2 separate regions of the Homo sapiens genome follow, and region 2 is linked to region 1. The links are contacts of gene promoters, found by promoter capture Hi-C in human tissues and cell types (Jung and others, 2019). All regions are on one chromosome and are shown on one strand. The core of a region is centred on a gene start or on the middle of the fragment in contact, and the rest is flanking DNA. Distances in the headings are between cores, read along the strand shown. Region 1 holds the start of HIVEP2 (HIVEP zinc finger 2). Region 2 overlaps LOC105378036 (a long non-coding RNA gene).

Region 1 (2,788 bases), core at 120-2,619:
ACAACTTCCTGTGTGAATGCTAAGCCATTACAGGTGTCCTAAGGCCTCCAGTGAAACCTATTATCAAGAGATTCCTCTGGTCTCCTCGAAGTCATCCCCAGCGCCCCCCATCCGCCGCCCACACATTATTGCTTCTCTCCTCCAAGTGTCTTGATTAAGGACCCTCTCTCTTCTCCGCACTCCCGAGGTTAAAGTGCCCCCGTTCCCTTGGTGTAGCTAGTTACAAGCTTTCCCGTTAGGGAAGACTAGTGCCTGCAGTCCTTTTTAGTTAGATGCTTTTAAGTCAGAGATGAGAGGAGCCACTTGAAGAAACCCTCCTTCCCTTCTTCCTTTCCCCCACTGGGAACCAAGTCCCTGAAGGACAACACCCAGGGACGCTTCCTGACCTTCTATCCCCTCACCCAATTTGGGCTTGGAGGGTTGGGGTCGCATTTTCTCATGTCCTCTGCTGCACTGGATGTGTTATGTAAGAGGGACAGAACGCGGGAGGCACATGCGTATAAAGCGCACCGATCTGTGATAACAGCTGGGGTAGCAGAGCGGATCTGGAGTCCACCCCCCCCCCCCACCAAATACGACAGACCCCACACATGCACATCAGCACCCCCTCCCCCACACACCCACACACACACACACACACGCACACACCCAGAGCAATGTTTTCCTGTCTCACCCCTACCAGTACCAGAGGCACAGAATGGAAAGGCGGGGGGTGGGGGTGAAAGGAGGTGAAAGAGGAGGAGGAGCAGCAGCAGCACATCTGCTTTGATAGCAGCCGGCAGTGCCGCCGCGGCAGAGAGCCCCTCGTTAACCCCCTTCCTGTGGCTGCACCACGTCATGGAACATTCCCGGAACGGGCCAACGTTCCACCCACTTCAGGGAACAGACATAAAGGCGCAGACCCAGTTCCCCACAGTGCACAGCCCAAACACACATGTCCCTTCCCGATCCCCCGCCAGACGGACAGACAAACACGCATGCAAACCGCCCCCACCCGTCTCCACGCGCCCGGGTCCAGCCGGCAGCGGCCAGAGCCGCTCTGCAGCCGGTGCACCCGCAAGGCGAGGGCGCCTCCGCCTGAACCTTCCATCGAGACAGTCCCCTCCTTCCTCGCTTCCTTCCTTCGCTCCTTCCTTCCTTCCTTCCTTGCCCGGGAGGTAAAGGGAGTCACTGAAATGCCCAGAGCCAGCGCCTTCGCTGCGCTCGCTCGGCCGCAGGCCGGCGGCCCGGGCCTCGCGCCGCCAGCCCGCCCGGCCGCCTGCGCCGCGCGCCGCGGCCCCCTCCCCCGCTACCTGACAACGGGCCGCCGCCGGCCGCCGCAGCCGCAGCGGTGGCCGGGCCGTGCGCGCCGGTGCACGTCGCTCATTAGTAAGCAGGCACATTCCTGCCTCCAGCGCTCCCGCGCGGCCCCCTCCCCCCAGGACATTACGCAAAGCAGCCTCCCCTCATCTGCATAGATCCGCGGCCAGGGTATTCCCCGCATTTCCCCACGCGCCCGACACCCCTCCCGCGGTCTCCCCCATCCCCGCCCCCTCCGACCCTCACCCTCGGGCCACCGGGAAGGGGCTGGGGGCACACGCCGGGGAGCGGGGGACGGAGTTCGGCGGCGGCGATTCCAATATAAAGTGAAACAAGCTCCCAGCGCCGAAGGAGGCAGGAAAAACCCAGCGTCCAGGCCACTTACCGAGCCGAGGAGGGACCTAGATTCCCGCCGCTCCGCTCTCGCGGTGGCCGGTCCGCCCTCCGCGCACCCCGAGGCTGCACCCAGCACCCCAGACGCGAGACGTGGAGGAACGCTGTGAACGAGCCGGGAGACCCTCCAAGTTGCTCTGGGCTCCGTGGAGCGTCAAGGTCCAAGACACAACTTGGCAAAGACTTGTGCCACAGTCACCGAAGATGTTTGTGCGGAGACCCTCCTGCGGGGAACGACGGCGCTCGGCGGCGCCCCGCTCTCCTCCTCTCCACCCCCTCACCTCCAGCCCGCCTCCCGCCGGCCGCCCGCCTCCGGGCCGCGAGCCCCTCGGGCGGCTGTCAGCTCCCGGCCGCCGCCGGGTGACAGGGGCGGGAGGAGGGCGCGACGCGGCGGCCCGAGCCCCAGCGGGCGAGGGGGATCCTCGCAGCCGCGGCGGCCGCTCACCTGGAAAGTCACCGCTGAGGAGGAGGAGAAGGAGGACGGGGAGGAGGAGGGAGAGGAGGAGGGGGAGGAAACCCCCCTGGTGCCCTTGTTCTCGCTGCCGCGGCGGCCGCTCCTCGCCAAGGCTGAGCGTGTCTGGTGGGGGGTGTCTGGTAGCATTTCCTTAAGGACAGAGGGAGGGCGGGCGCGGAGGGAGGGAAAAGATCCCGACCGCCAGCCCAGGCTCCTCTTGCCTTTATTTATTTTTCTGACACTGTACGGAGATGGGCCCGGGGCAGGGGCCGCCGGGCTCAGGCGGGAGCCGCGAGGCCCGGGCCGCAGCTGTCTGCGTGCGGGAGCCGCAGCGGCCGCCTCCCCTCCCGGGCTGTGGACGCACCGGGTTATTCCTGGCAGCGCCTCCCCGAACAGAAGTTACTAGGAGGAGTGCGCGGCGAGGGCGGACGGGGGGAGAGGCGGAGGGAGGGAGGGAGGAAGAGGGAGAGACTCAGCCAACGACGTCATCGGATCCCCCAGCGCGTCCCAGGGAGGGAGGCTGAACCAGAAAAACCAGTCTGGAGCCAGTGAGCGAGAGAGGGATGTGCGGCGCGCGGGGCGACGGGGGAGGGAGGCGGTCGGGAGGGCAGGGCCGGGCCCCACGGCTGCCGCTGCGGGCGG
Region 2 (2,788 bases), core at 205-2,704, 1.2 Mb after region 1:
ACTTTCACTTCATTCCCAGCTCCATGTATTCTATATACTGGGAATATAGCACCACATACAGTGGCAGATGCTTGAAGGTCTGTTCTGTAACCTGAGGATAGTGCCCTATCTTTTGCAGGGTGTCATCTCCCAGCCAGCACTTTAGCTGTAACTTCAAGAGGCAATTTCACTACTCTTTCATGATGGCAGTTTCTAGATGGTGCATGATCCACAACCACATGCCCAATGCCATACCTCAGTTGCTATGAAGACAGTCTCGTGGTTCAAAGACAATGTTAGGCGCCATCCCAGGTCAGTAGGTCATACACTTTATGAGCTTGCACACAGTGGAGATAGCTGAGGCACTACAGGCAGGAAAAGTAAAAACATATCTGGAATATGTGTCAATCCCATTCAAGATAAATTTTTTTTTCCAGAGTTGAATGGAACTGATATAAACAATAGGCCGCCGAATGACTAGTTGGTCATCTGAAGGAAGAATACCAATAAGAAAAGTAAGTTCTAGGGATCTGATATACAGCATGGTGACTATAATTGATACTGTATTTTATACTTGAAATTTGCTTTCAAGATTGCTAAGATCTACTTAAGCGTTTTTCTACCATGAAAAGGTAGAGATGATAGGTGTATTAATTAGCTTGATTGTGATCATCATTACACAGTGTGTATGTACATCAGATCTCCACATGGACACCTTAGATACATAAAATTTTTATGTGTCAGGTATACCTCTATAAGGGTGAGGGGAAAAAGAAGGAATGGTACCATATCAAGTACTCGGGAGTGATCTTTGTTGCTGAAAGTTTAGACATCTAGCAGCAACAGTAGGTAGATCAGCCATGGTGAGACAGAGTTTATATTGTTGGACCCAAGCTTCAGGGTTGCTTGGAACACAGCAGGAACCTGCTTCAGAGTCTTTTTCGTTCTTGGCCCAAGTCAAAATTAACAGTTTCCAGATTATTCCAACAGTTTGTTGAAGAGTATTCCCAAGTGTTTTATATATTTTGCCTCCAAAATGGCCTGTAAAGGAAGGTGTGATGTATAGAAACTTGTCGTTTACCTTGGAAGGGATGTCTCAGCATATTCCAGCATGTGGATGCCTAAAAACTTTATTGAAGTGTATGGCTGCTGAATCTTTGTAGTGTTTTTCTTCCTCCGTTTAGATTACGTGTCTTAATAAGACGTCCAGAATAATCGCCATTTCTTGCTCCTAAGGTCCAAATAACATGATGTCACCCACTTAGTGACCCCAAGTGAAGTTCTGTGGACTGTTCAGATGGCCCAGAACCCTTTGCACTATCACGGCAGAGATCTAGAGAATTGACATAGTGCTTGGACAAGACCGTGAGTGTGTAACTGTTAGCCATCCCGTGTGTGTTTCTTGTCCTTCTGAATGATAGAGAGCAAAATGGAAGCAGATCAATAGCCACTAACCACACAAGCAGTAGTGTTAATCTGCTATAGTAAAGATGTCACATCGAATACAGAAGATGTTATTGAAGTTACTACTTGGAGAAGTTTGTAGTAGTTCAAGGTCATATGCTCTGATTCACCTGATTTTCTAGGGGGCCGAATGGTGAATTATATGGGTTTATAATGAAATCCAGCACCCCTATATCCTTTAAATTTCTCAGGGTGATGCTAAACTCTGCCATGTCACTCCTGGGATGCAACGTTGCTTTTGATTTATAGTCTTGGCAATGGGGTGAGAATGTAGTTTTAGGGGCTTCTACTTGCCATTCCTACTACAATAGCTCTTACTCTATAAGTCAATGAAATAATATGAAGGTTCTGTAAAATCCTAATATGTCTGTTCCAATTATACATTCAGAAACTGGGAAAATGATCTCTGTGTGAATCTGTAGACCAGAGGACACATGTGTCCAGCTAGGACTCCATTAATTACTTGAACCTCATATACTTCTGCTCTACCAAGAAGTCCATGAAGATGCTTTTGTTCTCTAGGTATCTGCATCAATTCAGACCGTATATCTAACAGTCCTCATAAAAGCTATGTATTCCCATTTCCAGAGCATGATACCCTAGTGTATAGCCAAAGACCTTTTGGGGAATAGCTAGAGGAATCGCTACTGTATACATTTGTCCTGGTGTTGCAGTGTCCTTCTTCATGTGGACCTGGCCTCTCTTTCAGTCAAGGGGAATGTTCTGTAGTGGGTTTGAAAACTACCTGAGGTTTGTAAACTGGGCAAGGAATCCTGACTTTCTATTGGAGTAGCTGACCACAGTCTTCCGCTCATCTACTCTTGGTTTTTCTTTTGATTTTATATATATTGAGCAATATCCTTGATGGCTGCACATCTATCTTATCCCTTAGAACATTTTATTCTATTTTTTAAAATGAGCTATTCAATTTATATGAATTTTTAGATTAGGCAAAACTAATTATTGGTAAAATAAATCAGAAAAATGATTGCCTCTGTGGCTGGGGACTTACTGGGGCATAAGGCATCCTTTGGGGGTGATCAAAATGAGCTTTCTTCTTTTTTATTTTTAAATTGGCAAATTAAAATTACATATATTTATGGTGTACAATATGATGTTTTGAAATATGAATGGGTTGTAAAATGGCTAAATCAAGCTAATTAATAAATGCATTGCCTCACATACCATTTATTTGCAGTGAGAACACTTAACATTTACTCTGTTAGCAATTTTCAAATATATCATACATTGTTATTAACTATAGTTATCTTATTGTACAATAGATATCTTGAACTTGTTCTTCCTGACTGGCTGAAATTTTATATTCTTTGCCCAATATCTCCTC

The links. Contacts are between HindIII fragments. The study calls those that stand out against the background at their distance.
Region 2: a contact is called between a fragment that was not itself captured here and the fragment with the promoter of HIVEP2 in region 1, in 1 of the 25 tissues and cell types used here (spleen).

The regions. Positions count from the first base shown.
Region 1 is chr6:142,943,807-142,946,594 of GRCh38, forward strand. HIVEP2 (HIVEP zinc finger 2) reads right to left here and starts at 1,370. Exons shown (of 10, transcript NM_006734.4): 1 at 1,293-1,370. HIVEP2-DT (HIVEP2 divergent transcript) reads left to right here and starts at 2,683. Exons shown (of 3, transcript XR_001744397.3): 1 at 2,683-2,788. RefSeq lists silencers at 1,000-1,069, 1,210-1,309, 1,510-1,739, 1,970-2,599, 2,650-2,788. The HindIII fragment of the contact is 8,201 bases long and covers 1-2,788 here.
Region 2 is chr6:144,112,437-144,115,224 of GRCh38, forward strand. It overlaps LOC105378036 (a long non-coding RNA gene), which reads left to right. Exons shown (of 4, transcript XR_943089.3): 3 at 417-494. Among named protein-coding and RNA genes, the nearest start is that of SF3B5, 18 kb to the left of the region's middle. The HindIII fragment of the contact is 3,737 bases long and covers 1-2,788 here.